Regions from separate parts of the Homo sapiens genome. Here region 1 is linked to region 2. The links are contacts of gene promoters, found by promoter capture Hi-C in blood cells and fetal thymus (Javierre and others, 2016). All regions are on one chromosome and are shown on one strand. Each heading gives the region's core, a stretch centred on a gene start or on the middle of the fragment in contact. The rest is flanking DNA. Distances are from core to core; before and after follow the strand shown. Region 1 holds the start of PITHD1 (PITH domain containing 1). Region 2 overlaps PNRC2 (proline rich nuclear receptor coactivator 2).

What was found. The method cuts DNA at HindIII sites, captures the fragments that hold promoters and counts their contacts. A CHiCAGO score of 5 or more calls a contact.
Region 1: the fragment with the promoter of PITHD1 here is called in contact with a fragment that was not itself captured in region 2 in 2 of 17 cell types (total B cells and erythroblasts); the score reaches 5.5 in total B cells.

The regions. Positions count from the first base shown.
Region 1 is chr1:23,774,846-23,780,328 of GRCh38, forward strand. PITHD1 (PITH domain containing 1) reads left to right here and starts at 3,573. Exons shown (of 6, transcript NM_020362.5): 1 at 3,573-3,868; 2 at 4,593-4,636; 3 at 5,019-5,096. The coding sequence starts at 3,671. ELOA-AS1 (ELOA antisense RNA 1) reads right to left here and starts at 3,452. Exons shown (of 4, transcript NR_038280.1): 1 at 3,354-3,452. RefSeq lists enhancers at 2,297-3,249, 4,503-5,483 and silencers at 3,503-3,812, 3,903-3,952. The HindIII fragment of the contact is 11,008 bases long and covers 1,637-5,483 here.
Region 2 is chr1:23,962,087-23,967,107 of GRCh38, forward strand. It overlaps PNRC2 (proline rich nuclear receptor coactivator 2), which reads left to right. Exons shown (of 3, transcript NM_017761.4): 3 at 1-1,376. SRSF10 (serine and arginine rich splicing factor 10) reads right to left here. Exons shown (of 6, transcript NM_054016.4): 6 at 2,261-5,021. Among named protein-coding and RNA genes, the nearest start is that of PNRC2, 4.8 kb to the left of the region's middle. The HindIII fragment of the contact is 773 bases long and covers 1,715-2,487 here.

The sequences.
Region 1 (5,483 bases), core at 2,323-4,822, 190 kb before region 2:
TTTAACCTGGTGTCTGACAGGTTTTATCTGCAGCTTGTCCTGCTACAGTTTTAAGCCATTAAGTTTGGGAATAATTTGTTACACAACAAAAGACAACTAATACAGACCTACTGGGAGGGGAGGAGCCACAGTATTTTGCAGTTCTTCCAATCAGGAGGTGAAGTCTACAGTCTAGCTCTCCACTCTAGAATTTGGATTTGGCTGATGGGTCATTATAGAAAGATTATAGATGTAAGGCTTAAAAAGTGCTTGTGCTGGCAGGGCGCAGTGGCTCATGCCTGTAATCCTAGCACTTTGGGAGGCCGAGGTGGGCAGATCACCTGAGGTCAGAAGTTTGAGACCAGCCTGCCCAACATGGTGAAACCCCATCTCTACTAAAAATACAAAAATTAGCCAGGCGTGGTGGCAGGCGCCTGTAATCCCAGCTACTCGGAAGGCTGAGGCAGGAGAATCGCTTGAACCCGGGAGGGGGAGGTTGCAGTGAGCGGAGATTGTGCCACTGCACTCCAGCTTAGGTGACAGAGCAAGACTCCATCTCAAAAAAAAAAAAAAAAAAAAAAGTGCTTGTGCAATTGAGTCTTGCCCTCTCTTGCTCCTGGGAACTCTGCAATTATCACCATGTAATTTAGCTAGGCTTGTCTGCTGGAGACACGTGGTCCCATCATCCCAGCTAACAGCCAGCATCAAGCAGACGAGAGTGAGACCATCCCAAACTTTCCAGCCCAAGCTGAACTGGCCCAGAAAAGCTAATCCACAGGATCATGCGAATTAATCAATGTTTGTTGTTTAAAGCTATCAAAGTTTTAGGGTAATCTGTTACACAGCATAAGCTAATTGATACAGCATATTTACTTTGTGTGCACCTCCCGCCTCAACCTCCCCACCCTAACCAGGAAACTACTGATGTGTTACAAGAACACTACAGGATGTGTTCAAAGCCTGGTTACCTCCTAACTTTACCTAGTCTCAGACAAGTTAGTTTGCCTCTTTCAGCCTCAGTTTTCCTCATCTTCAAATTGGAGATAACAGTAGGTAATAGCACCTAGCTCTCTTTTTTTTTTTTTTGAGATGGAGTCTCGCTCTGTCGCTCAGGCTGGAGTGCAGTGGCACAATCTCGGCTCACTGCAACCTCTGCCTCCTGGGTTCAAGCGATTCTCCTGCCTCAGCCTCCCGAGTAGCTGGGATTACAGGCACACGCTACGATGCCTGGCTAATTTTTCTATTTTTAGTAGAGACGGGGTTTCACCATGCTGGCCAGGCTGGTCTCAAACTCCTGACCTCAAGTGATCTACCCGCCTCGGCCTCCCAAAGTGTTACAGGTGTGAGCCACCACACCTGGCTGTACCTAGCTCTTAAAGTTCATGTGACAATTAATTGAGATGAACTACATAATGTGCTTAGCACACAGTGCTCAAATAAATCATTAATGAAGGCAACAGGAAAAAGCCAAAATGAGTAGATCTCCGGGGTAAGGCCTGAGTTGGTTCTTCAAAAGGACACTCTTACCAAAGAAAGGCTACCAAGTATATCAGTCAAGTAAACATTTACTGTTTGCCACATTCCAGGTCCCTTACCTGAAACTGTGACCTAAAAGCAGGAATAATTCACGGCACTGAGCTATTTTGAAACAGAACCAAGCTTGCTTATTGCACAAGTAACTAAAATAGGACATCAAAATATTTTTCTTGTTTTTATTTTTTTGAGACAGTCTTGCTCTGACACCCAGGTTGGAGTGCAGTGGTATGATTACAGCTCACTACAGCCTCACCCTCCCAGGCTCAGGAGATCCTTCCACTTCAGCCTCCCAAATAGCTGGGACCACAGGCATGAGCCACCATGCTGGGCTAATATTTTTAATTATTTTTGTAAAGATGGGGTCTCCCTATGTTGCCCAGGCTAGTCTCAAACTCCTGGGCTCAAGTGATCCTCCCACCTTGGCCTCCCAAAAGTGCTGAGATTACAGGCATGAGGCACTGCATGTGGCCCAGAAAATATTTCTGAATGGAACTTGAAAAAATGGATATTTTGGTCTATACTTCACCAGCCCCACTGAGCACTCCAGAGCCAGATGTGAAGGGAAGAGGGTAGCCAGGGTATCCCATAACTCTCTTTCTGTATCCTGTCTTTTCCCCACCAGGGAGTAGGAAAACATTCTATCCTGAAAACAAGATTATTTCACCTCTAAACAGTGACTTTTAATTATTTTGATCTCAACCCACAATATGAAAAACACATCATATTGTGTCTGAATACAAACTCAAAACTGAAACAAAAGTTTCATCAATTGAGACTTGAAATGTGTGATACATTCTGGGTTTTTTTTTTTTTGTATTCTATTTTTTTTTTAAATGTTGATCACAATTCTCTATAAACGGATTTTAAAACCTATTGACAGGCCACAACCAGCTGTTCGAAAAAAAGTACTTTGAAATATCACATGGGGGAGGAAACGCAGAGATCATCTAGTCCAATCCCTTCACTTCACAGGGGGTAAACTGAGTCTCAGAAGATCAAGTCACTTGCCCAAGGCCACGCAGCTAGTAAGTTGCTGTGGTTGGATTTGACCGTAATAACCATCGGCTACTGAATGCCCATCATGTGTCAGCCATTTGCTGAGTTTTTTCTTTTTTTTTCTTTTTGAGACAGAGTCTTGCTCTGTCGCCAGGCTGGAGTGCAGTGGCGCGATGTCGGCTCACTGCAACCTCTGCCTCCCGGGTTCAAGCGATTCTCCTGCTTCAGCCTCCCGAGTAGCTGGGACTACAGGCTCGCGCCACCACGCCTAGCTAATTTTTGTATTTTTAGTAGAGACGGGGTTTCATCATGTTGGCTAGGATGGTCTCGATCTTTTGACCTCGTGATCCGCCCGCCTCGGCCTCCCAAAGTGCTGGGATTACAGGCGTGAGCCACCGCGCCCGGCCTGCTGAGTTCTTTAATTGCATTATTTCATTTAATACTCACTGTGATCCTATGAAACAGATACTATTCTTTCCACCTTACAGACGGGGAAACGGAGTCTCAGAATAGGGGAAATGACTTAAGGTGTCACAATGGCCAGTAGCAGACCCAGGAGTAGTCTTTAGGTCTGGCCGTGCACAAAGCCCCATGCTCTCAAGCTGTAACCCCGCTATCAAGAAAGTGGTTATGCAAGTGGGCCTGTGAGCTCTCAACGTCTAAGCCGTGCGCATGTGAGACAGCGATAAGCTCGCGTTCTCCAGTCTCCAGGGCCTTATCATTCCTCACGCTTTCCTTCATCGGCTCGCAAAGAAACGTGGCGATCAAGGAAGACAGCGAAGGCTCCATCCTCGTCGGGGGAGGATAATTCGAATCTCAGCCTGTGAGTTTACTCAGCACACCTGTTTAATCTCTTGGTCCTTCAGTTTCCACACCTAGGAAGCTGGAACAGCAGCAGCATCCAGCGCCAGGACTGGAGTCATATACGAACTCTGGCACCTGGGAGGCGCGCGTCCTACGTCAGTTCCGCTCGACCCCACCCCCCCCGCCCCCCCGCCTTCTCCCCACGCGCATGCGCCGCGCAGCGGCGCTTTTTACGACGCGGCAGGCGCGGCGCGCTTAGTTGCCGGAGCTGAACGGCGCGGAGCTGGTCTGAGGCGAGCCGAGCCGAGCGAGCGCGGCGGTGGGGCCGAGAGGACGCGCAGGTGGCGGCGTTGCCATGTCGCACGGTCACAGCCACGGCGGGGGTGGCTGCCGCTGCGCCGCCGAACGGGAGGAGCCGCCCGAGCAGCGCGGCCTGGCCTACGGCCTGTACCTGCGCATCGACCTGGAGCGGCTGCAATGCCTTAACGAGAGCCGCGAGGGCAGCGGCCGCGGCGTCTTCAAGCCGTGGGAGGAGCGGACCGACCGCTCCAAGGTGGGCCGCCTGGGGCTTGGGGCGGGCGGGGCAGGGTGCGTGTGGGGCCTCGGGCCGTCGGTCTACTCATTTCTGATGTTAAGAATAACGACAGCCTGGTTGCCAAGCGCTTTTCCGTGCCTGTCTCCTGCCAGCTCTTTGGGAGGCGAGCAGCGTTGTCTCCCCATTTTGCATATAGGGAAACTGAGGCCTAGAGGGAACGGGGACAGTTTTGTCAAGCTACACAGCCTAACGCTCTATTCCAGGGCTGTGTGGGCTAGAGAGGATGGTCGTGAGGGCCGTTGGACCATTGGTGCTAATGGCTGCCTCATCATATTACCTGGTGAAGATGAGCCTAGGGAGATGAAAGGTGGTTCCCATATAGAGCAAATGTTCTTTACATTGTGGGGTCGCAGGCCCCTTTGCTATCTGTTTGAAAGCAGTGGACCTTCTTCTCAGAAAAATGCACATAAACACCTGCCTTTCAGTTCACACTTCAGAAGGCTCTTCGACCCTGGAAATTCATTCATGGGCTTTTTGTTAAGAACCTTCCAGTTGGGTGGCCTGTGGCTGTTATGACACTGGATAAGACTGGTTAGCTTCAAGTTAATAAGTCTTGGAAAACCAAGGGAGAGTGACTCTTCCCATTGCACCCCAGTTGTAGAGCAGGGTGGGAGATGCCTGAAATTGTAGGCTCTCAGCAAATATTTGTTGCTTTCTCCTCCCCCCTCCCCATCCCCTCCAGTTTGTTGAAAGTGATGCAGATGAAGAGCTTCTGTTTAATATTCCGTAAGTATCTCCTTGGTGCCTACCTCAGGCTAAATAGGCTGTACCCAGTTGCCTCAGATGGATTCATTCACTGGTGTCAAGAGCACACATTTGCTTCTAGAAATGGGATAAATTACTTTGGTGGGTTTGAGGAGGAAAGCATCATAGCTTTCTTGGTGCAGACTGGAAACAGATGTATTTGTAGAACAATAACTGAGAAATTGAGGTAGATTTCTTAGAATTGTAGAATGCTAGAGGTAGACAGGATCTTAGAAATTATCTAGTACAAGTTGACAGATGAGTAAACTGAAGCCCATACAGGGGAAGGGTCTTGCCCAGGGTCACACAACTAAACAGGTATTCAAACTCAGGTTTGACAACCTTCTCTTTTGCATTCTGGCAGATTTACGGGCAATGTCAAGCTCAAAGGCATCATTATAATGGGAGAGGATGATGACTCACACCCCTCTGAGATGAGACTGTAAGTGGCAAAGGCTTAGGCCCTCAAAGGAGCTCCTAATTCTCTTTTTCTGGTAACATTTTATTCCAGAATAGTATCATTTTCTTCTTACCGGGTTTAATATTTCCCCTTTTAAAATATCTTGGTCCTGTTCTCATTCTGCATTGGAATACATATATTTCTTCCTGAATTAATGACTTTTTTAGATTAAGCATCTTTAGGCCCAACAGCGTGTCTCATATTTCAAAGTGCTTACTATGACATGATTCATTCAGAGAGCATTGTGTAAATGTCACTTGTTGATGACTCTGCAGTTTTCTTAATAACTAGCTGCAGATCTCATATGATCTTTATGGATTCTAGGGGTTAGCTTCAACATTTTTCCTTGCTATTTCATACAGTAATGAT
Region 2 (5,021 bases), core at 851-3,350:
TTAAGTGGAAACCAAGTTTAGATTTGGGGAGTGGTAAAGGAATCAGCTTTTTCTATTGTTAGGGGAAGACAGTAATTTATCATTCATGGACCAGTAGATTGTTGAAAGTTGGTGAATCGGATTATAAGCTTCTAGCTAACACAAGGATTCAGAATTAGGTAAACATCTGAAGGTTTAGTATATTAGAAACACCCAAACCAGTAATATGCTAACCTGATGCACTGCTGAAAGAAAATGTGAATTTTTCGTAATAATTGCATTTTAGTGAATTGTACAGTGGGTGGAAAGGGCATTTGGAGCTCATTAGAATGAGACATAGTACACCCCAATGGCCCTGTTTATTAAATGTAGTGGATTAAGTGTCTGTCAACAAATACACCAAAACCATTTTTTATAGAAACAGTATTTAATGGTCACTCAATAGCTTTCAAAATACATTTTTGTATTACAGCACTGCACAAGCTATTCTAATAGTGCTCTGGCCTCATCATTCCTGCAAAGCTTGCTTTGGGGAGTTGGATAATGTGAAAATTTTAAGTACCTAGGGGAGAAAGAGCCATGTAAATATCTGTAATAAACTTGTAGCATATGTAAAGTTTTCTTGGCCTTTATCTTACAAAAATGGAGTATTTTAGTATGAATTTGCTGAATGTAAGACCGTGGACTGTTTTTTATAATATGGCCTAATTTTAAAGGTCCAAAATAACTTGTTTTTAAAGTTTGCCCTTGTGCTAAAGTGCCAGTGTATGTATGTTATACTTGATTTGGTTGTAAACTATATTTCAAAGTAAACCCTAGTGTAATAAGTTTTATAACTAAAAAGGTTTAAGCTGCTAAAACTATTTTTAAGAGATGTGAAATGCAGTATGGGACTATCTTTTTTTCCTCCTCTAAGCCCAAAGATTAACTAGAGTCCCTCCAACCTTATAGATTGTTGGCTTTCACAATCTTATAACCTAGGATACAGGTAGTTTCGAGTATGGTGCCAGTGATGTTTTGTTTTTGTTTGGTCAAGGGGTAGGTGCAACCCAATGGACCACTTATGCAAAAGATGTAAACTCTTGCATAATACATTGATAACATGTTTTGCCAACTTTAAATGCTTAAACATAAGCGAAACCAGTAGCAAGTATGTGGGTCAGCTTAAAAATTTTGATTGTTAATGCCCTATTTTCTAATTTGGCACCTCTTGATGCCTAAGCAGGTAAGCAGATGCCTAAGCTGTATTTCTCCAAATAAATCAAGATGAAGTACTGCCCAAGTTAAATATTGATAGCCTAAAGACAAGTTTATGTAGTACTTAATGTACATGATATGAATGTGAAGCATAAAATTAAATAAAATTTTTCCCCATTGGCTTGGTTTTATTTTAAAAATGGTTTTGATTGCTTAATATTCTTTTTAAAAATGTGTTTTACTTGTCACTGACTTGAAGCTCATAATACACTCACAATATTCCAAACTCTTGGATTTCTCAGACTCCAGAACTATGAACCACTACATTTCTGATCATATATATATACGTATATATAAAAAAGGTCACAACTAAAATGTGATAGGACTGTTGGCTTGAAAAGGGGCAACTAGTTTGCTGACTGATACAGAAGATACTAGGATTTGACAGCTATGCAGTTAAGCAACTACTTAGGATTTCTCTCTCCCAGTAGTGTTAATTAAAAAGCAAAAAAAAGGCCACACATGGAAAACATCGCAAAGCTTTTGAAAGTTAATTCCATGATCTAGGTTCATAGAAAAAAAATTATAAGCAAATTTATCAAGTTGACAAGAACCCTTGTGTTTTAAGTATGTTGACAAATGAAAAGTATATAAGGGGACCCCTCAGAAGAAAAGCATCACAACCACACCTTTCTGATACAGATTCCAAATGATAGGGCATCTTAAAACTAGTTTGAGTAATCCTTAAAATGCTACAACTAGTCCCATGGCAAAGCTGTATTATTTTCATGCAAACTAGTTAACAATTTGGAGTTAAGGCAGAACCAGCATTTGGGTGTTCATTTTGTTTCCAGGGTAATTTCTGTGAACAATGCCAAGGATTGCAGAATTGAACTTCATGTATTGGACAAATCTCAGCCTAGGTGTCTGTTAGTTTTTAAGCTATATATTGAATCTAGTGTATATATTGAATACACTAGATTTTTAGTGACTAATCTAGTAATACACTAGATTTTTGGTTTGACTCAAGCAAAATGAGTAAATGGAAGTGGGAGTGGAAGATTACCTAACTTCATACTTTAGGAAAGGTACTGATAAAAGTTTTGGTTAGCCTATATAGAGAATGGTGATAGGAATTTCCCAAGTCGATGCAATTGCGAGAACCAAAAATAGCTGGTACAGAGAACTTACCATGTAAGGCTGCTGAAGTCAGCCATACTGTGAACCTTAGGTAAATGCTGTAATTTCAATTTGTCTTCTTTTCGATGGCAGTTATACTATGATGGAATCCAGGTCCAAAACCTATCCTTAAGCTTAAAATAAATACTAATAAACTATCCTCTTCCCTAGAACTACAACACAGGAAAAAACCTGAAAGGTTTTGTGTAAGTTTCAGTTTCTAGTATTTTGGTTGCATTCTTGTAGGCAATTTGTAAAGCAAGAGGGACAGAGTGCATCTCTAAAACCTCTTACACAAATTAGGAAAAAGTTGTACCCAGGTGGTTACAAATCTAAGAGCAAAATCTTAAAAAAACCCAAGATTTATTTTTGGCTCCTAGACCAGTTTATTTCACTTTCCAGCATTCAAAGAAATGTGATCTGCAAAAAACTAGATACAAAGGCCTTTTACTTCTTTACAAACTACGGTTAGTTCTCAATGAATTTACATGCCTCACTTTTTATTCCAAGAAAAATCCCCATTATGCAATACAAGGGTGAAACAGCTGTTACAAATACACAGAAACATAATAAAGATAACCAACACTGTTAAGAGGAAGGGGAAGAGGAAAAAACCCAAGAGAAGGAAACTTTTCCACAGTGACTAGCAGAATGTCTTGTAGATAGCAATAACCGAAGACAAACAGGTTGCTCACTTCATCCTATTTATCAAGTCATCCTATCTAAAATGAGAATAGTTCATGCCTAGGATAGGCTAACTATAGGCTTTGCTAGTCCTCCTTCCTAATAGAATGCCCTCAGATTATTCCTGAGCTATCACTCAAGTCACAGATACTTCAGAATATAATCTTAGGTTTTGTAAACAGGAACATGGTCAAAATGCAATACAATGGAAAATCTCTACAAGAGAATGAGATTTGGAAAGCCATGCTTAGAGTCTCTGAGCCACACAACCATAAGATCTTCGAGTACGTTTAATCTCTCATCCAGGAACATTATCCATTTACCTTGTAAGGTTGTGAGAAATGAATAGCATAATATGCAAGAAGCTATCACATGATGGGTATTCTACAAAGGACAATTTTCTCATCTGTAAAATGGGAATAATACCCATTTCCCAGGAGTGTTTTTAGGATTAAATAGAAATATTTGAAAAGCACATGGTTCGGCACAGTAAGTGCTCAATAATATTGACAGCATTCAGTATAGAGAGAAACAACCACAGAAGAGATCCTAAAGCAATTCATTCAACAGATGCAAAAATTAAAGGGCCTTTTCTGATTTACCATAATTAAATATTTTAGAGAACTACCAACTGTTGTTATTGTAGTTATATATGTATTTACCTAATTTTTTTTAAACAAAACCCCAACTCAATATGCACCTTAATTCTCCCCCTTAAATGTCTTAACTTCAAAAGGAAATGGAGAAGGGAGGTAGAGGGCAAAAAAGTCTATAGCCTCTACATATTCTTTTAAAAATACATAGAACCTCTGTCCATAAGAACCCCTATGTTAATGAGTGTATAACGGTATACAACAAAATACTTTTTGTAATTAAATCTAGTCACTTTGACTCTAAGTAAATTCTAGATCCCATTATATCAATGTTACTATCTCCATGAAAATAAAGCTATAAAAACACTTCCCCATTGGATTAAACAACAAACATGGTAACAAAAGATGAAACAAGTGAAAAATTATGGGCTGTAACCTAGGATCTGACACTTGCTGTGTGATCTTGGGCAAGTTCAAACAAAATTTCTAAAATAAAATACAAACAATAATACCTCCATTTCACACCTCCCTTGAAAATATACCTCTGCTATATTTTCAAAATTGCTACAAATTAAAAGCTTAAATTCCACTTCCAGATTTTTAGTTAATTTTATATGGAAAATTTTAAGTATGTGGCAAAAAAGATGACAAAAATCAAATGTGATGAAATCAATGTATAGGTAAAGAAACATCATATCCTAATAAGAAACTAAGGAATCCAAAACATTTTGTGATACTATAAAAGTTATTTATTCGCTATACACAGAACATGTCCCCTATAAAATGTACATGTAAATCACTAAAAAGTATAATTTGGTGAACATTTTCTCAATTACAGAACATACTAAATCAGTTAGGATAACAGCTCTCTGTCTGCCTCAAAATAATCTAATTATAGCACCCAGTCTCCTTTATACCTAATGCAAAGTTAAATACTTATTTTGGGGGTTATATCCTAGCATGTGTTTGGTGAGGCAGAGTAAACAATTTATTATAACTCTAGTATATTACAGTCACTGCACAATAAACCAGTTTATTACAGATTAAATCATTTTTTCATTATTTATAATAATGTGATCAAATACTGGATACTTTTAAATGGCAGATAACCACACAATTACTTATCCTTGATCGTATATTGTGTTCTATAATTACATTGATACGAATGGTGTAAAATATTGTTATGAATAACACACCTCAAACAAAACAATGAGGCCATACTGTAATGATTCACTAGATTGTGCTCAGTAGACATTTACTGAATAAGGGAATTATCTATTTTTCTCAATTATCCAGTACAATGATTTGCCCACAGTAAGGGCTCAATAAATATTTGCTGAATATACTGACTAGGAAAGAGGTGAGAAGAGATGGGCCCTCTTAGCTGGA